7 separate regions of the Homo sapiens genome follow, and regions 1, 2, 3, 4, 5 and 7 are each linked to region 6. The links are contacts of gene promoters, found by promoter capture Hi-C in blood cells and fetal thymus (Javierre and others, 2016). All regions are on one chromosome and are shown on one strand. Each heading gives the region's core, a stretch centred on a gene start or on the middle of the fragment in contact. The rest is flanking DNA. Distances are from core to core; before and after follow the strand shown.

The links. The method cuts DNA at HindIII sites, captures the fragments that hold promoters and counts their contacts. A CHiCAGO score of 5 or more calls a contact.
Region 1: a contact is called between a fragment that was not itself captured here and the fragment with the promoter of PTK2 in region 6, in 3 of 17 cell types (total B cells, naive B cells and endothelial precursors). The highest score is 12.1, in total B cells.
Region 2: a fragment that was not itself captured here is called in contact with the fragment with the promoter of PTK2 in region 6 in 1 of 17 cell types (monocytes); the score reaches 5.8 in monocytes.
Region 3: a fragment that was not itself captured here is called in contact with the fragment with the promoter of PTK2 in region 6 in 5 of 17 cell types (naive CD4 T cells, total B cells, naive B cells and 2 more); the score reaches 5.9 in naive CD4 T cells.
Region 4: a contact is called between a fragment that was not itself captured here and the fragment with the promoter of PTK2 in region 6, in 7 of 17 cell types (endothelial precursors, total B cells, naive CD4 T cells and 4 more). The highest score is 9.5, in endothelial precursors.
Region 5: a contact is called between a fragment that was not itself captured here and the fragment with the promoter of PTK2 in region 6, in 7 of 17 cell types (endothelial precursors, total CD4 T cells, naive CD4 T cells and 4 more). The highest score is 8.7, in endothelial precursors.
Region 7: a fragment that was not itself captured here is called in contact with the fragment with the promoter of PTK2 in region 6 in 3 of 17 cell types (total B cells, monocytes and naive B cells); the score reaches 9.0 in total B cells.

Annotation. Positions count from the first base shown.
Region 1 is chr8:141,175,605-141,178,304 of GRCh38, forward strand. It overlaps DENND3 (DENN domain containing 3), which reads left to right. Exons shown (of 23, transcript NM_001352890.3): 15 at 987-1,157; 16 at 2,463-2,592. Among named protein-coding and RNA genes, the nearest start is that of DENND3-AS1, 47 kb to the left of the region's middle. The HindIII fragment of the contact is 1,922 bases long and covers 290-2,211 here.
Region 2 is chr8:141,231,227-141,233,926 of GRCh38, forward strand. All of the region lies in intron 2 of SLC45A4 (solute carrier family 45 member 4), which reads right to left. Among named protein-coding and RNA genes, the nearest start is that of SLC45A4-AS1, 22 kb to the right of the region's middle. The HindIII fragment of the contact is 5,972 bases long and covers 1-2,700 here.
Region 3 is chr8:141,134,576-141,137,275 of GRCh38, forward strand. DENND3 (DENN domain containing 3) reads left to right here. Exons shown (of 23, transcript NM_001352890.3): 2 at 1,934-2,216. Among named protein-coding and RNA genes, the nearest start is that of DENND3-AS1, 5.8 kb to the left of the region's middle. RefSeq lists an enhancer at 83-701. The HindIII fragment of the contact is 594 bases long and covers 975-1,568 here.
Region 4 is chr8:140,840,162-140,842,861 of GRCh38, forward strand. All of the region lies in intron 7 of PTK2 (protein tyrosine kinase 2), which reads right to left. Among named protein-coding and RNA genes, the nearest start is that of MIR151A, 110 kb to the left of the region's middle. The HindIII fragment of the contact is 613 bases long and covers 979-1,591 here.
Region 5 is chr8:140,788,802-140,791,501 of GRCh38, forward strand. PTK2 (protein tyrosine kinase 2) reads right to left here. Exons shown (of 36, transcript NM_001352702.2): 14 at 673-725. Among named protein-coding and RNA genes, the nearest start is that of MIR151A, 57 kb to the left of the region's middle. The HindIII fragment of the contact is 3,807 bases long and covers 1-2,700 here.
Region 6 is chr8:140,999,928-141,002,627 of GRCh38, forward strand. It overlaps PTK2 (protein tyrosine kinase 2), which reads right to left and starts at 1,355. Exons shown (of 36, transcript NM_001352702.2): 1 at 1,198-1,355. RefSeq lists silencers at 1,020-1,349, 1,370-1,789. The HindIII fragment of the contact is 6,005 bases long and covers 1-2,588 here.
Region 7 is chr8:141,192,920-141,195,619 of GRCh38, forward strand. It overlaps DENND3 (DENN domain containing 3), which reads left to right. Exons shown (of 23, transcript NM_001352890.3): 23 at 1,114-2,700. The coding sequence ends at 1,314. Among named protein-coding and RNA genes, the nearest start is that of SLC45A4-AS1, 60 kb to the right of the region's middle. RefSeq lists an enhancer at 1-207. The HindIII fragment of the contact is 4,384 bases long and covers 1-2,700 here.

The sequences.
Region 1 (2,700 bases), core at 1-2,500, 180 kb after region 6:
GCTCATCTGTAAAGTAGGAATAAGGCTGATACCTTCTCAGTGGGTGGTGGAGATTGAATAGTTTGCATATGGAGCATGCTTAGAATGGTAACTGATTCTCTGTCACAGCTGACTTGCATCTGGGAGGCAGGAAGTAAGAATGTGGGCTGACATTCTCATTAGGGACAGTAGGACGCCTTCGTTCATCCATGAGATGTTTACTGAGAAACTGCCATGTGCCAGCCACGGTGAGCTACAGTAGCTCACATTTTCTAGTCACAGTCGGACCTGGTTCATATAAAACATAACAAGCTTATTTTATAACAATTAAAAAATCTTCAAACAGTTTTAACATTATATTCTAAAGGTAGTCATTTTCCCTGTCGAGGAAATCTGAATTTCATCCTGATTCCTCTTACGCCTTATAGTTGTTTTCCCAGATTTAAGGGGACTGTAAGAGGCATGTCAGATACACAAATGTTTTATGTGATCACCTGCTGAGTGGTCATAGAAGCCAGAAAGGCAGTCAAGCCACAGCCGCAGCCCATAGTAAATGCTCGGCCAGTAGATCCCCCTCTTGCTGTTGGCCTTCAGTTTATGCTTTTTTCCACACCTGCTTTTCCAGACTTCCTTCTAGAATTCCAAAGAAATGTAAATAAATATAAGGAAAGGGAGATGGAAGTAAAAAAAAACAAAAACAAAACAAAAAAAAAAAAACAAAAAGAGGGAGAGAGAAGTATTTAAGGATGTGAAAGAATGCGCTGCCTTCGGACACTGGGCGAGCCCAGCTGTGTGGGTGGGTGTAGGTGCCGCACCGCAGGTGAATCCTACCTGCCGTCCATGGGAACACTGCCCCTCACCCGGGGCCCTGCCTTCCACATGCCAGCAGGATGCGTGCCTGCAGCCCATCTGCCTCTTCATTCCAGAGCCCGCTCTGCCTCTGTCTCTGGTGAATCCACGTGTTCTCTGAGTGTGACATTCCTAACTTTTCTTTTCTGCCTCTGCAGGAGGTCAGGAGAACCACTACTACATTTCTACTTCGGAGAATACCCACTTTAAAAATCAGAGTGGCGTCCAAGAAAGAAGTCTTCGAAGCCAACCTGAAAACCGAGTGTGACCTTTGGCACCTGATGGTGAAGGAGATGTGGGCTGGGAAGAAGCTGGCCGATGACCACAAGGTGGGAGACGCGGGTCCCCTCTGCCCTTTGCTGTGGCTGCCTCAGGGGCCTCTCGCCACCTGTGGGTCCTGTGGCAGTCCTCAGCTGTGAGTGCTCGGGCTCGGGTCTGAGTGTCTTAAGCAGAGTAAGTTTGTCGGACACCATCTTGACAGAAGCATTGAAGATGTGGTCTGTGTGACCCAGCGAGAGGCCTCACGGTGCTACGGAAGAGCATGATGAGAAAACGCAGGGCGGTCTGGGCAGGTGTGGGTGCCCCACTGCCCGCTCCAGACTGGCGACATCCCAGAGAGTGGGGCCTCCCGGGGGCGGACGGTGCTGGTGCTGTCCACACCCGCAGGCCGGAGTTGGGTGTTTTGGGCTTCCCTGCTCTGAGCGACTCTTCACAGTCACAGGATTTGGAATTCGGCAGGGGCAGTACTGCTTTCCTTCCACAGGGTTGAGATGATTTTTCTAGGGATTGTTGTACCTTAATTTACTTTGGGCCAAATTGATAGCTTTGATGATATCAAATGACAATTGCATAGTAATGAAGGGAACCATGGGCCGGTGGTGTGTAGAGGAGGCATCCACGCTGCTCAAGGGTGGCACAAGACAGGAAGACGCCTTAGAAAATGGGCAAAGACCATGAACGCGGAACTCACAGAAAGGGAACAGTTCACCAGGTTATGAAGAGGTGTGTAGCCCCACTAATCCTCAGAGAAATGCCGGGGACGATGGCACCCACTACAGTGGCAGTGCTAGGAGGAACAGATGGGGCCACAGCGGGAGGGTTGCTGTTATTACAGGAAGTTCCCGGTCACAGGGCAGAGGGGGACTGGGTCCTTTCTAAGATTCCAGTGCCCTGTGGCTTTTAGACTAGCCATCTGATGCTATACCCACTGGTTTACATAGCATAAACCAGCATAGTCAAACCAAAGCCCGTGGGCCAGTGGACTGTCTTTGTAAGTAAAGTTTTATTGGAACACAGTCCTGCCTGTTTGTTTATGAAATGTCCCTCGGTGCTCCCATGCCGCAGTGGCAGGCAGTGGGTGATCTCAGCTGAGACTGGCCACAAAGCTTGAAATGCCTCCTGCCTAGCCCCTTCTAGAAAACACTGGCTGAGCCCTGGTATAAACAATCAATATTTGTCTTAAGTAAGAGAAGAAATATATGACATAAAATCCAAATTCATCCGTGATCTAAACTCTTCATGTCACTTTGGAAAAAGGCATTTTGGAAGGATTGTCCTGTGTGTTGCAACAAGGTCTCCGGTGAACTGATCTTAGTGATTCTTGCTGTTTTGAAACGCACGTGTTTCTGTTGTAGGACCCTCACTACGTCCAGCAGGCGCTGACCAACGTCTTGCTGATGGACGCCGTCGTGGGCACACTGCAGTCACCAGGCGCCATCTACGCTGCCTCCAAGTTATCCTACTTTGATAAGATGAGTAACGAAAGTAAGATAAGCCCGTTCTTAGCGTGGATCATTGTCCTGATTACACGCCTTAAGTGATTTTATCTGGTCGATGTCTGTTTTATCAAGTAGAACCGAGCCCAGCTCCCCC
Region 2 (2,700 bases), core at 52-2,551, 230 kb after region 6:
AGGGACAGCCAGGCCGGGAAGGCCTTGGCTCTGGGCTGAGAGTGTGGCCCCTCGCGCCAGAGGCAGCAGGGACCCCTCAAAGGTGCCTGGGCTGGGACACGCAGGTCCCCGTGAAGGCCACGCTGCAAGTTGGTGGGGGGAGGACCATGAGGAGGCCGGTTTGGTCCAACCTAGTACTCCCTGGACCAGATGACCAGCTAAGTCCCCGAGGTCAAAGGCTTGGATCACAAGGTCACCACTGGATGAAGAGGGCACATTAGGAGGGGCTGCTCCAAGAGGGCCGCGCAGCTACCTGGAGTCGGATGCCACGTGGGGGAGCACCCAGCAACAGCAGGTGGGCGGACGGCTGGCACTGCGGGACCCACACCGAGTGGTCGGGTCACCTGGCCACCTGGCATCTTCCAGACAAAGAACCCTCGAGCCAAGGTGCAGGCAGAGACCCAGGGACCATGGGGGACCCTCCCCCATCAGACACAGAGCCACTGTGGGCCCTGCCCAGCCCACTACATTGACAGGCACAGTAGGAAACACTCTTGCCACACGGCACCGAGCCATGGATCCCACTAGGAAGTTACTGCCACATGAGACTGCTCTGTGTGCGCGAAGGCCCAGTACACAGCGACGCCTCTCAACAGCGCCTGGTGAGGGCAAATGGCCCGAGATCAGGAGACCCCACTTCAGTTCTTTACCAAGGTTCTCCTCCCTCCATGGGCACTGGAAGGTAGTGCCTGGGTAACCAAGGCTCCAGGTCACGTAGCACTGCCCAGGCCCAGTGAAAATGGCAGGAACAGTACATTCCAGTGGGGCCAGGCCCCACACGCCAAGTGCCCGACTCAGGCTCTGCATCTCTCCTCTGCCGCTGGCCTACAGAAGGGGTCTTCAGGGGTGAAGCTGAGCCTCCAATGGATTATATCATCTGCCTAAGCTCATACAGATGCTAGGGACTGGAGGGGGCGGGGGAACCCCCCTCAGGCTCCCACACATGGGGCCGGGGAACCTCAACAATCCATCACACGCCAGCCCCGCTGCTCTGTGCGCCATGCTTTGGCCATGGGCTGGTTCACGTCCAAGGCTTGGACAAGATGACAGCAAATGTCCCCTTCAGCTATAAGCCTTTATGGTTTGAATTAGGGACAGATGGGAAATCCAGCTGCCACCCTTATATACTGCTGTTTGTAGCTTTGATTATAACAGATGGCCAGAAACACCCCAAATGCCCAAGCATGGAACAATCACGCCAAGGCCTCAGGTGAAGACAGGGAATGCTGCTGCTGCAACATGAACGCACACTCAGTGGCTCCCAGGTGAGCACTCAGGAGCTGCAACGTGAACACACACACTCAACGGCTCCCAGGTGAGCGCTCATGAGCTGCAATGGGAACACACACTCAGTGGCTCCCAGGTGAGCACTCACAAGCTGCAACGGGAACACAGACATTCAGTGGCTCCCAGGTGAGCGCTCACCAGCTGCAACGGGAACACAGACATTCAGTGGCTCAACACAGACATTCAGTGGCTCCCAGGTGAGCACTCACAAGCTGCAACGGGAACACACACACTCAGTGGCTCCCAGGTGAGCGCTCGCGAGCTGCAACGGGAACACACGCACTCAATGGCTCCCGGGTGAACGCTCACGACCAGCTTGGGCTGGACTGGCGTCTCCTTTCAGTGGTTGCCACTTTCCATGGTGTAGATGCTACCACCCCGCCCAATCTCAAGCTGCTGAGGTGACGTCGCTGAACAGGAGTGGAGAGGAGCAGCAGCCAGCGCTGAGCGGCACCTCTGCCCCGCAGGTACAGCAGGCAGACACACCAAGGCGAAAGGGAGTCGGGCATTAGGAAGTGCTAAGTGCGCGTTAACTTTGCTAACCTAAATCAACTGTAAGCAAGTAACTTTTTTCACAATGGATGTGTTAACGGCCAGCCCGCAAAGTTCTTGAAAATTTAAGCTGGCTCTCAGGAGCCAGGATGAGCTGGTTCCAGCACACAGCTGGGCTGCAGACATTCGTTCATTGTACCCTGCCTACTGCCACACACTGATTTAGATGTGGCTTGAGAATGCTATTAAGTTAAAACTAGCAAGTTTTTGGAAATTAAGGAAAAAATGAATTCTTACTGATGGTTACTATTGCAGTTTATCAATAAAGATCTTGGGTATTTAAAAATTAAAAAAAACACAGCCAGGTGCGGTGGCTCACACCTGTAATCCCAGCACTTTAGAAGGCTGAGGCAGATCACTTGAGGCCAGAAGTTCGAGATCAGCCTGGCCAACATGGTAAAACCCCACCACCTGCAGCAAAAATAGAAAACAATTAGCCGGGCATGGTGGCAGACACCTGTAATCCCAGCTACTTGGGAGGCTGAGGCACAAGCATTGCTTGAACCCGGGAGGCAGAGGTTGCAGTGAGCCAAGAGTGCGCCACTGCACTGCAATCTGGGCAACAGAGTGAGACTGTCTCACAATAAACAAATAAATAATAAAATGAAATAAAAAACCCTCTAACAATATCTCCCTTTATGACACTTCTGCCCAAGACGGCAGGCCCCTGGGAAACGGCTATGGAGCGTGGCACCCGTTTTGCTGTGCTTTTCCCGTTTTGCTGGTGCAGGGCCTTGGCTAGGCAGGTCCAGCAGGTCTGCGGCTGGACCTGACTCTGGGCTGAGCTGAGCTTCAGAGGCCAGCACTAGGGCCCCATGGTTG
Region 3 (2,700 bases), core at 22-2,521, 130 kb after region 6:
TTTCCCATGTTTTGTCCTGGTTCCTACTGATACATTTTTTTCTCCAAATGTAAAGCAATTGTTGACCGAATTTGAGTGATGTAGCGTGCAAATCGTCATATAGAGATCAGAGTGTGCTTACTGATGGAAACTGCTGCCGTTGTTGAAATTTCTTCCAGCGTAAGACTCCCCTTTTGTCACTGCTGTGTCTTATTGGAATGTTGAGTGTTGGCTGTGCGTTTTCTGTCAGCCAAGGTCCCATTTCTCTGGATGGCAGTGCTATCTCCTTTCTTCCTTACGGAGTCTTGCTCTGTCGCGCAGGCTGGACTGCAGTGGTGAGATCTCGGCTCACTGCAAGCTCCGCCTCCTGGGTTCATGCCATTCTCCTGCCTCAGCCCCCCGCCCGGCCGAGTAGCTGGGACTGCAGGCATGCGCCACCAAGCCCGGCTAATTTTTTTGTATTTTTAGTAGAGACGGGGTTTCACTGTGTTAGCCAGGATGGTCTCGATCTGACCTCGTGATCTGCCCGCCTCGGCTTCCCAAAGTGCTGGGATTACAGGCATGAGCCACCGCGCCCAGCTCTTTCTTTCTTTCTTTCTTTTTTTTTTTTTTTTTGAGACCAGGTCTTGCTCTTTCACCCAGGCCGGAGCGCAGTGGTGTGATCACAGCTCACTGCAGCCTCAACCTCCTGGGCTCAGGCGATCTTCCTGCCTTAGCCTCCTGTGTAGCTGGGACCACAGGCATGTGCCACTATGCCTGGCTAATTTTTTTATTTTTTGTAGAGACGAGGTCTCATTTTGTTGCCCAGGCTGGCCTTGAACTCCTGGGCTCAAGCAGTCCTCCCGCTTTGGCCTCCCAAAGTGCTGGGATCACAGGCGTGAGCCACTGCACCCGGCAATGCTGTCCTTTCTAGGGTCCCTTAAAGACCCTTGACTACCTGCCTTTGGCCACCTCCTGTCTCTCCATGCCTTGGGTACCCAGGGCCCCTTGCTTCAAGCTTTGCTGTTTCGGGCTAGTTTAGTACCAGAACCACTTCCTTCTTGCTCGCAGACTGCAGGGTGTCCACCTTGGAAAGATCTGAAATCAGCCGGGCAGCAGTATTTGTTTTGTCCTAGCTCTGTACTAGGAGCTGTATTGGGCATAGTAGTAACATGGAAGAGAGATTGAAGGGATGGCCCATGTGCTTTGTATTATTTTAGGAAAGAATGGGAAGAAAAAAGGCAAAAATAAAAATTATGCCAAGTTAAAGTTGAGAAGAATTCAGGCCAAATGCCCCCCTTTTATTGATTTGAGGGACTGTTTGGTCAGCCGAGGAAGGGCACATGTCTCATCTGTACCCACCAGTGCTGTTTCTCACTCCATGCGTCCTCCCAGATCAGTGTGGTAGAAAGGAGGCAGCACTGGCCCACGTGGGGGTGTGGAGGGCGTGGCCCTGGTAAATGTGTATGTGTGGGGTTTGACAATATACAGAGCCTGCCCCCACCCAGGGAGGGCTGAACAGTATATCCATAGGCTCCTGGCAGCCCCGCTGGGCTGAGTACCGGACCCACATTGTCTCTGTTATTCCCTGTACTCGCCGCTTAAAGGGAAGCTTGGAGGGACAAAGAAGCTTGCTGTCAGGAGGTGGAGGCACAGCCAGGACTTGAACTCAGGTCTGTGGATCCCAGTCCGCAGCCTGGACGGCAGTGCTTTATAGGAAGGAGGTGAGGTCCTGCTGTCCATGTCCACAGCTGAAGAGCCAGGCTCTGCGAGTCTACGTGGCTTCCCTGAACATAGGGCCTGGCAGGTTCCTAAAAGAAGCTTCCCAGGAGCCCTTTACTGTTAGGAGCCTGAGGCGCCAGTGTTTATGGGCACCGAGGGGAGGAGAAAAACAAGCAGTGAAGCTCAGACAGAAAGGATACCCTCGAACAAGAGCTGAGGCTGTGGCAGTAACTCTTATTTTTCCCTTTTTTAGGTTGCTTATAAAAAGGGAGTCAAACATCTTTCTGCTCTTCTTGATCCAGAGGTCCTGTCCATTTTCGTGCCTCCTTTTATCAGTAAAGAGGACAGTCAAATGGCCGGTGCCAACTGCGGCACTCTCGGTAAAACCCGGATGCGCTCCTTGAGAAAGAAGAGAGAGAAGCCCAGACCAGAGCAGTGGAAGGGCCTCCCGGGGCCCCCCAGAGCGCCAGAGCCTGAGGATGTCGCCGTCCCGGGCGGCGTGGACCTCCTCACCCTGCCGCAGCTGTGCTTCCCAGGTATGTCTAGGAGGTGGGCACCACTGGGCGCCTCCTGCTGCCGGCCACCCAGAGTGGTCTATTCCCAGAAACCCACAGGCAGAGGGAAGTGACGTGAGCGGCAGAGCCAGGGACCCCTCACTGCCTCCTCTTGTGGGATTTAGTTTTCTTAATCTTGGGGATTTTTTTAATTTTTTATATTTATTTATTTATTTATTTACTTTTTTGAGACGGAGCGTCACTCTGTCACTCAGGCTGGAGTTCAGTGGCACAATCTCCTTTCACTTCATCCTCTGCCTCCTGGGTTCAAGTGATTCTTCTGCGTCAGCCTCTCAAGTAGCTGGGATTACAGGTGCCAACCACCACGCCTGGCTAACTTTTGTGTCTTTAGTAGAAATGGGGTTTCACCATGTTGGCCAGGCTGGTCTTGAACTCTTGGCCTCAAGTGATCCACCTGCCTTAGCCTCCCAAAGTGCTGGGATTACAGGCGTGAGCCACCGTGCTC
Region 4 (2,700 bases), core at 35-2,534, 160 kb before region 6:
AATCCTCCAGCCTCAGCCTCCCGACTAGGTGAGACCACAGCTGCGTGCCACCGCGCCTGGCTAATTTTTATAATTATTTGTAGAGATGAGGTCTCGCTATGCTATCCGTGCTGGTCAAGCCATCTTCCTACCCTGGCCTCCCAGTGTGCTGGGATTATAGGTTATGAGCCACTGCACCTGGCCCAATATAGGATGTTTAAGAAATAAAATCATATACATGTAGGGAAAGCCAAAAATAATAACTGTATAAAATAATAATAATGTCTAATATTTGGAGTTTCAATTTTGAAAAGATATAACTAAAATAACAGGAAAAAATGATGTGTAAGTTGGAAGAAGATGGGGAGAGTTAAGGTGTTTAAAGGTCCTTGTATTGTTTAAGAGAGGGTTAGATAAGTTTAAAATCTGGAGTTGGTTAATATAGAAGGTTAAATGTAAGGGTAACTAATGAAAGAGTAGAGATGTTTATAAATTTCAACGTAATTACAGAAGAAAATGTGGAATAAGAATACCAACTAAGAAATACACAGCACATGCACTCACACACAGCTTATTTCTAGGACACCGGAAATAAATAATAAAAGCGAGTCCAATATATCACGCATCCTAAGAAATACAGATGTACTAAACCTGTCAGTTCAAAGAAACACTTAGCAAACTGGATTTAAGAAATCCAGCACTATGACATTTTTAAAAGACACACCTGAAAGTATAAGGACACAGAGAAGTTGAAAGTGAAGAAATGAAAAGTATAAACCAGGTCAAGGCTAACCTAAAGAAAGCAAAACAGATTTCAGAACAACAACAACAAATTATCAGGCATAGAGAAGATCACTACATAATGATGCAAAATTCAATTTACCAAGAAGGTATATTGTTCGTATGTTTAAATAAAAGCGCCTCAAAATATCAAGGAAAAATTAATAGACTTATAGGAAGAAATTGGCAAAGTCATTATCACAGATGGGTATGTTAACAAGCTTGATTAGGAAGTGCATTTTTTGAATCACACTAAAACATTTATAAAAACTGATCACACAAAGCAAATACAACAAAATGTTAATAACTGTAGCATTCAGGTAATAGACACACAGATGCTCACTGAACAAGTCTCTCAACTTATTTGTATTTTTGAAACTTTTTCATGATAAAACACTAGGGGAAAATGATCTTATTCTAGGGTCCACAAAAGAAGTCTCCATAAAAGTTGAGAAGCTCTTATCACACAGACCACGCTATCTGAGCATAATGTCATTAAGCCAAAAGTTAATTTAAAAAGAAAATATTTTTAAAATCCACACATTTGAAAATGTAAAAACAGAAATGAATACACAAAAGTTTCAAAACAAACATTTAACAATCTTAAGTTCTGGAATGCCTTTTTAAAAATCGGATCTTAAAACTCAAAAACCAAAATGAAAATACGATTTTACTACATTAAAGAAAGACAAACTTCTGTAATGATGAGAGCCATATACACATAGTTGAAAGAAAATGACGAGCTGGGAAAGAAAATACAGAACTAACATTACAAGATGTGTTAACATGACAAAGACTGCTTAAAATTAATAAAGAAAAAATATATTAGAAAAGCTTATTTAAAATATAGTTAATTTACAAAAAAAACTTAAAAATGGCCATATATGTGAAGAGGTTTAATATCACCAGTAATCAAACTAATATAAAGCAAGTTATCATCTGTTGCCTATCATATAGGCAAAAATGAACAAAAAATGGCACCATGCCTTACATTGTTATTAACCTGAACTGAATGTCCACTATTATGTGGCTGTTTAAATGTATGTAGCATTATATACTCATTGGGTGGACTAGTATACTAATGTATATTTTTATTTAGTCACATGGAAAGATCTATTAAACATAAAGTTGAATAAAAAAAGCAAGATGCATATAGGATTATTCCACTTATATTAAAACTATGCATTGAATGTGCACACAAGTGTTAAAACAGAGAGCTATAAGGATATTTATTAAAACTATGATGGTGGTTATCAGTGAGAGGAGTTGAAGAAATTTTCTTATTTGACACTGTAGTTTCACTTTTTCTCTAACTAGAATGTATTATTACCTTTGAAAATAAATAAATTAAAAATCATTTTAAAAGGGCTCAAAATTAAATCAACAGATGAACAATAACATTGTTTTCTATTTTTTTTTCTTAATGCTCTTTAAAGAAACTCTACAGTTTGGTTTTTATCCTGATTGACAATCAATATCTCCCATGGATAATAATCATAATTATAGTCCACATTTATTCAGTGTTGGGTACAAGAGGTATTAAGCTCTTGACATAAATTATCTCATCTAACTCCTTACGACAATCTCATATATAGGTAGGTATCACCATTATCCCCATTTTACACGTTTGGAAACAGACACCAAGAGCTTACTAATAAAATTTGGCAAATAGAATAGTCAAGGTGCGATAAGGACTTGAACCCAGATATTCTGCTTCAAGAGGTCACTCAACTAATCTACTTATATGGAGATAGGGTGCTGAATTCACACAAGTTGTATAACTGCAACGAATCACTACAGTGGAGCAAAAGCACAGGAATTTAGAAAGAGGGGACAGCAAAATAAGCACAATAGCATCCTAGAACTACAATAAACTAAAGATTCCTCTTTCTTTTAACTATCATATTTACTTACTTTAAATATCACACATATAAATTAACT
Region 5 (2,700 bases), core at 40-2,539, 210 kb before region 6:
ATTACATATGTGTGTATATGGTTACGTATGTATATATGTGCATATACAGATGGTATATGTATTTTAAGATATCAAATGGGCCCACAGAAGATGCTTTCTCATCCTCCCCCTTTCCTTTATTTCCCACATTTTTAAATGGGAAAAAAGGCATATCTATTTTGAAACATACCAAGGAAAGTACAACACACTTAATTGCACCAGCAAATAGTTAAGACAATGCTCATGCCAGAATCTTAACTATATTTTTTAAAAAGCAATACTCAAACACCATATTGTGAAAGACAAAAATTGTTTTAAAATGTCTCACATTTCCTGAACTTCTTAAAATAAATATGCAAAGTATATTCTACTGAATTGCAAGATAAATTATAATGGCAACTTCATTCTGGATAAGATTAACATGATATTAAAACCCAAAAATAATTTGGAATTCTATACAACTTGCTGAGTGATCTGGTATTTTATCTATGTCCCATCTTAAAAAAAAAAAAAAAAAACTATGAGCCATACTTAAAACTATTTAATGATGGTAAAATTATGCAAATTTGGATAGCCAGAATGCTTATTTTCATAAGCTATTCTAGAACGAAGCAATTATACTAAAAATAGACATCTATGATCGTCTTACCCCATGAGAGTGCTTTTCGAGGTCTGCTACCTAGAGCCCCTTACCTGACACAGAGACGGCGTGTGTCCGCATGCCTTGCTTTTCGCTGTTGGCCAACCTGTGACAGACAAGAGCAAAGCTGTAAGCCCTGCAATTTCCCCAGGACCCCGCAACTCGGCCTCATCAAGTGGGGAACTGCCTTGGATGAGGAAGACAAAATTTTAGATACGTGATTTCTTTAAAAATTGGATTCTACTATTAAAATAGCCAGGCTGCTTTAATGCTTTAAAGATCACAAATTAAAATACACAACTGAAGGAATGTTGAACTGTTCTGAGAAAGATACTCTTGACAATAATTTAAAACAATGCAATACAATTTAATCTGGTATGAATGGGTTAAATAAAAATATAAAAATATAAATTTAAATGCTACACACTAAAGGATTGCCCCTAAAGTTATGAGAAAAAAAACATACACCTGGAAGTGGATTTTGCTCTCTAAAACATAATATGAAATACTACAGTATGACTGGTCTTTCTCAAATTTATGGCACATAAAAAATTATCAAGCAATACATTAATATGTACTATTACCTACATACTTAAAAAAGTAATCTCAATGTATCTTGCTACTTGCTTCATGACATGGTTTAACACTAGTTTTACATATTTACCCACAAAAAATAAAATTTTGGCCAAAAGTCTTGGTGCCGTTTAAAAAATTGGTAAAAAACTTTTGGAAAGCACAAAACACAGGGAAAAAAGGAGCCACACAGTCTTTAGATGTCAAAGTTACCTGATCTTTTTATAAGAGAAAACCTTTTCCAGATGAAATATTGACATTTAAAACAGTATAGGTTGAATATCTCTTATCCACAATGCTTGGAACAAGAGTGTTTCCAATGTCAGATTTTTTGGATTTTGGAATGTCTGCATATACAAAATGAGGAATCTAGGGGATAGGACCCAAGTCTAAACGTGAAATCTGTTTATGTTTCATATACACCTTATACATGTAACCCAAAAGTAATTTCATACAATATTTTAAATAACTTTGTTCATGAAACAAATATTTGACTGCAACCTGTTACACATGAGGTCACATGAGGTCAGGTGTGGAAGTTTCCACTTGCTGCAACATGTTGGTCCTCAAAAAGTTTCCAATTTTGGAGCATTTTGAACTTTGAAGTTCCAGATTAGAAATGCTCAACTTGTACATCGTTTCGAAGCACTACAACTATTTAATGTGAAACTGTATAATCTCTATAATAATCACAGCAAACAGCCATAGACTTGTGTTCCTTTTACAGAATTCTCCAAATATTTGAAATTTTATATCTTTAGTATAAAAATTTAATCAAAGTTGTTTTCTAACAACTCATTACTTTCTCTTCCATTGCGCTACATGATTTATCACAACTTATCTTTGAACTATATTTATTGGGCAGTCAGAGGACACACATTTTAAATCAATAAATTACATCATTTCCTTCCCTGTTGTGCTGCCAAAACACTGGGGTTTTCCCTTGTCTGCGCCACAATTATGTATGCTGTTGCTAAGCAACTTTCTCACGATAGCTTGGATTTCAGCTCTTATCTGATCAACAGCAATAATGGTGTCCTGCTGCTATAAGGTTTGTGGAAATTCCACTCTTGTAAAGTTTGCTTCATTTATTTAGTTTCCTTTATCTGTTAACACTTGCAATGTACTACCTTCCTCACTCACTTTCATACCTATGTTCATGATTCCTCTATGTGTGTGTGTGTCTGTGTTTTAAGAAATGGGGTGGAGTCTCACGAAGTCACCCAGACTCGAGTGTGGTTGCTATTCACAGGCATGATCATAGTACACCACAGCCTCAAACCCCCGGGCTTCAGTGATCCTCCTGCCTCAGCCTCAGAACCACAGGAACATGCCACATTGCCCAGCTTTGATTTTAATCCAAAATTATCCCTTAACTTCCCACAACTAAAGGTACTCTAAATAAACATCAGTTCCTGCCCTGATATGACCCCAAATGAACCTCTATCAGACACTGCTGATGCTGTAGAGTGCACTGTCCAAAGCTAGAGGTGCACTAGCCACATGCA
Region 6 (2,700 bases), core at 105-2,604:
TACAATATTACTATTATCTTAGTCTCATTGCCAAAAACCCAGCTGCAGGCTAACTATGCAAGAATGAGACACTGTTGAAATGACTCGGAAAAAAAAAAAAAAAGAAACTTTACCCTCACTGAATTTAGCTACAAAATTCTGCAATTAAATGAAACCAATTCACACACACACACACACACACACACACACACACACACACCCCTTCTTCTAAGAAAGAACAGGATGCCGCTACACAAGGAACCCAGAGAGAAATTCGGCAAACAGTTGCGCCTAAGCCACCGCGGCAGAGTCGGGGGCTGGGGGCGGGGAAGAGGAGAAAACTTGGGAAGCACAATGACTCCAGTGAGGACTTCAGTGAGGGCTCCAGGGCTCCCGCCAAGAAGCCCACGGGGCTCTACCAAACTTGAGGGTTTGCGTTCGGGGACACGGCGGGCTTGGGGCTCGGGCACCGGCAGGCCGCTCGGAGCCCACCCTTGGCTGCCCGCGAGGCCGCGCCCGGGGGACGGAGGTCGGGCCGTCGCGAGCCTCCCTCTCGCGTCCGGGCGAACCCTGCCGACGTCCCTGCGATTTCCCTCTTCCTCCTCCTGCCTCTCCCCTTTTGTTTTTCAGGCATTGGGTCCGCTCCGGCGGAGGCCGGCCCGTCCTCCCCGCGCCTCTGTCCGCCCTGCGCGCCCCCAGAGCCCCGGCCTCCTCGTCTTCCTCAGGCCCCTCGGCCTCTCCGCGCGCCCGGCCTTTTCGAAAGCCGCCCCCCCCTTCCTCCTCACGTCTCCCGGACTCCCCACGTCCCCCAGCCTTTCTGTCTTCCCCGAACCCCTTGGCCTCCCCGCGCGCCCCCAAAACCCCCGACCTCCTCGAGCTCCCGGCCTCCCCACGTCCCTCAGCCTCCCAGTCTTCCCCAAGCCTCCCGACCACCCAGCGCCCCGAACCCCCGCCTCCCAGCGCGCCCCCTGACCTCCTTAAGCCTCTCGGCCTCCGCGAGGGCCCCCAACCTCCTCACGGCCACCGGCCTCCCCTCCTCCCAGAACCCGGGCCGGGGGCGCGGGAGGGGCCGGTCTCCGCCGCATCCGCCCCGGGACTGGTTGGGCGGCCCCGCTCTGCCCCTCCGCCCTCAGGGCCGCGGCCCAGCCCACGACCGCTGCACAGAAGGAGCCCGCCCAGCCCCCGACCCGCGCCCCGCGCCCGGCGCCCCGCACTCACTCGGACCGCGGCTCGGCGCCGTGAAGCGAAGGCAGACGACGACGGGGCGGCGCTGGGCGACAGCAGCCGCGCTTCCTCCCACGCCTCACGCCGCGGGCTCACAGTGGTCCGGGACCGGCGGCGGCGGCGGCGGCGCGGGCTCGCGCCCTCGAGGCCGTGCTGCGTCGGCGCGGGCCCGCGCGCGTGCGCGGCAGCCGGCTGAGGCGCGCGTCCTCTCTCGGCAGCGCACGCCCGACCCGGTCTCAGTCCGGAGTTCCCGCCTCTCGGGGGGACTGGGCATGCGCGCCGCCCCCGCGCATGCCCAGCGCGCCGCTAGGCTCTGCTCGCGTAATTTGTCCTGTAGTGACCGCGCCGGGGTTTCGGGGTGGCCCGAGGCTGCGCGCGGGCGTGGCGGCCGGACGAGGAAAGCCCTGGTCTCGGGGGTGGCCGGGGTCGCCCCGCCGAGCGGACATCCTGGGGTCCCACCTGCCTCGCTCTCCGCCAGCGGGATTAGACGGACTTCGGGAAAGTCCTCCCCATCTCCTTCCCTGCCCCCAAATCCCGAAGGGGTCCCCTCTGGAGAACCTCCCTCCTGAGCGGCCCTGCGGCCCCGCCCCCAGAGTTGGACGCCCGCTGTCGGGCACCCGCTGCGGGCCCCGGGCCTTGCAGTGCACTCTCCAGGCACCACACCGACCCTAACGAGCGGTTCCTGGGCCCTTTTTGCAGACAAGGAAACTGAGGCTCAGAGATTCTTTTCATGGCATTATAGCTAAGTTGGGCTGGGCCATTATTTGATTTTGGAAGATGAAAAATCATGAAAGGGACTTAGAAGTCCACTGGAGGTAGACAGGTTACCTAAATGAACGCCAGCAGGGAACGAGCCCTGCAATCCCTCCCGAGGGCTACAGACCTGAGACGGGCTCCAGGAAAAGGAGGGAAGGCTCGCCCCGACACCGACCCGGGCTTCCGCGGTGTGAGCCAGTTTCAGCGAGGAGCTAGTTGGTTATGACCGGAACGTGCCGTAGGTGGGGTGGGGGAAATAGCAAAAGGCGAGGTTGGAGGGATTGAAAAATGCAGACGGCTGCGTGGGGCTTGCTTAGGTGCCTGGAGTTTATTCTTTAGGCAACAGGGAACCTTTGGAGGGCTTTAAGCAGGAAGTGATAACTGATTTGTGTTATTTAAAAAAAAAAAAAAGTCACTCTGGCAACCTTGTGGTCGGAAATGAAACCAGAAGAACCCTCAAGGCTGCAACTTTCATTTTTATGGTGTCATTTTGATGCTAACCACAAGCCAGGAAGCAGGACAGACAGGCACCGAGGCCTTTTGAAAGGTGAACACCCTGAAGCCCAGAGAGGTGACACACGTCATTGCATTAGGAGCTTTTATAAAAGTAAAAATGAAGTAAAATAAAAAGCTTTTGCTTATCAAGATTTTACCATATTTAAATGTTTGGGTTGTATTGTTCTTTAATGAGATGTATTAAGGTTGGTGTTTTTCTGGGTTTTGTTACTTTTTACTACATAT
Region 7 (2,700 bases), core at 20-2,519, 190 kb after region 6:
TTTCTCACAGTTCTCGACGCTGGAGGTCCAAAACCAAGGTGTCGGCAGAGCCGCTTCCCTCGGGGGCTCGGGGGGAGCGTGCACTCCAGGCCCTTCTCTCCCCCACCCGCTCATGTGGCCGCCGTCCTTGGCGTGCCCTGGCTGTGGACGTGGCACTCTAACCTGTGCCTGCACCACATGGCACTCTCTCTCCCTGTGTGTGTCTCTTATGGGGATGCTGGTCGTACTGGATTAACCAGTGTGACCACATCTGAACTATCTGCAGACTCTACTTCCAAAGAAGCTCACATTCTGAGGTTCAGAGGATATGGATTTGGGGGGACACTGTTCAACCCATTACAGTCTGCCCTCTGGCCCCCTAAATCCACATCTGTTCCACATGCAAAATACACCCCCTCCATCACTACATCCCCCGAAGTCCCAGTCCCTCCAGTGTCAGTTCTGAGCCCCAAATCTCCAAGTGAAGCCAAAGCCCTCCGATGTGGGTGAGCCGTGGGCGGGTCCCACCTGGGGCAGAACCAACCCCTCTTGCACCGTGAACCTGCGCAGCTAGAACAGGCTGTCTCTTCCCAAAACACAAGGCTGGGCCAGGCAGAGGTTAGACATTCTCATCCGAAAAGGGAGAAATTGGAAGGAAAGCTGGACTTCCAGGCCCCGAGCAAGTCGGAGACACGGCGGGGGTGGGGCGGAATTCGTTTAGTGTTTTCCCCCATAACTTAATTGGGGTATAATTGATGAATAAAAATTATATATATCTAAGGTATACAAGGTGATATTTCAGTATACATTGTGAAATAATCACAAGCTAATTACCATATCTGTCACCTCACACAGGTGGCTGTTGTTTGGTGAGAACACTTAAGATGCACCCCAGCACTTTTCCAGCACGCAGTGCAGTCTTCTTCCCCAGAGGCCCCTCGGCCATTAGGTTCTAAGCCCGAGAAGGGTCCTGTGCACCTGCCAGGCGGCCCTGACCCTCAGGCGGCAGAGGCCCTGTCCAGGAAGGACATAGATTTGGAGGCACACGCGTCAATTCTGGGTAGCCGGGCAAAGCCCTGGTGCTCTTGGGAGGGGCTTCTTTCCCTGCTGACCCCTCCCGTTTCTCCCTGGCAGGTCTGGGTGGGCAGCCGAGGGCTGGGGCAGGGAACACCCAAGGGGAAAATCTACGTGATTGACGCCGAGAGGAAGACCGTGGAGAAGGAGCTGGTGGCGCACATGGACACCGTGAGGACGCTGTGCTCGGCTGAGGACAGATACGTGCTGAGTGGGTCGGGCAGGGAGGAGGGGAAAGTCGCCATTTGGAAAGGCGAATAAACGTGGCTGAGTCTGCCAAGTGGAACTGTGCCCTATGTGTGGGGACTGGCTGCCCCCTAGAGCCTGCCAGGAGCAGAAGCCTGGAGGGGTGGCAGGGCAGAGCAGCCCAGGCTCAGCATGGAGCCCACTTACCGTGTGGCCAGCCGCGAGACCCATGGCCACGCACCTTCTCTCAGGCCTTCGGGCCCCCTGGTTAAACTGCACCAAGGGTGTTTCCTGTTGGGGTGTGTCTCAGGCAGGCAGCTGCGTCTTGTTGGTGATAACCTCTGCTGGGAGGTTACTTTGTTGCCTAGAAAGTTCTGGAATCCACAACCAGGGGCTGGCACTGGAGCCAGCAGCTTGGCCGAGTCACAGGTGACCCGTGGCCCTCACGTCTCTGGTTTTACCTTTCCTTACTTCATTCATTCACTCACCCAGTCCTTACGAATCACCGAGGAACACTGGGCTGAGCACATGACAGGGAGCCTGGAGCCCCGGGGCCTCCAGCGAGGCCTGAGAAGGGTGGTTCGGGTAACCACTGTGGGCTCTCTCCCATCACAGAAGGTGGACAGGGCCTACCCAGGTGGAGGGGACCACCCTGCGATCAGGTGTTTGCGACAGGGGTTGGGCCAGCTGAGGCAAGCTGTCTTTTTTCCCTTTTCTTTTTAATAGATGCAACATTTTTATAATAATCCTAGAGACCTTTTTTCTACCAAAGATCACAGACCAGAAAAAGTTCCATCTAAAATATCATGCCCAGGAAAGCACATGGGATCAAAAGTAAAATAGCATCATGTGTGATCTCGTCTTCCAGCGTGCCGCTCAGTTCCCCGAATCCGTGTGCACACGTGTGATCTCGTCTTCAGTGTGCCGCTCAGTTCCCTGAATCCGTGTGCACACTGCGTATGTGTACGCGCAGCATGCTATACTGAACTCAACAAGATCTTGGCTGTACATAAATATTTGTAAAAGAGACCCTTTGCACCTTTTTACTGTAATGTTGAGACTTCATTACTTAAATGTTCTACGGAAGGTTCTGGTGTGGTTGTTGGAGCCGGAGGGAGCGTGTCAGCACGTGCTGAGGGCATGGGGCCTGCCCCCTGGGCACCCATCCACAAGCTGGGCCACGGAGCTCCAGCTTCTCAGGACAAAGCCCCGGGGCTGGCGCATCCTGAGGGTCTCTGGGGGTGTTTGCCAGGCTCCTGGGATGGGCCGCTTTCAGAAGCCCTGCAGTGCCTCCAGATGGAAAGGCGGGCCCGGCCTCCGGTTGGGTCTGCATTTTGGAGAGTCCACACCACGGACCAGGTTTTCCCCCAAGGCTTGGCTTTGTGTAGCTACTAACTTCTTGGGGCATTCTGAGAGTGTGGGCAGAGAGAATTATGTGGCCTCATCCTCCCCCAAGGCTGT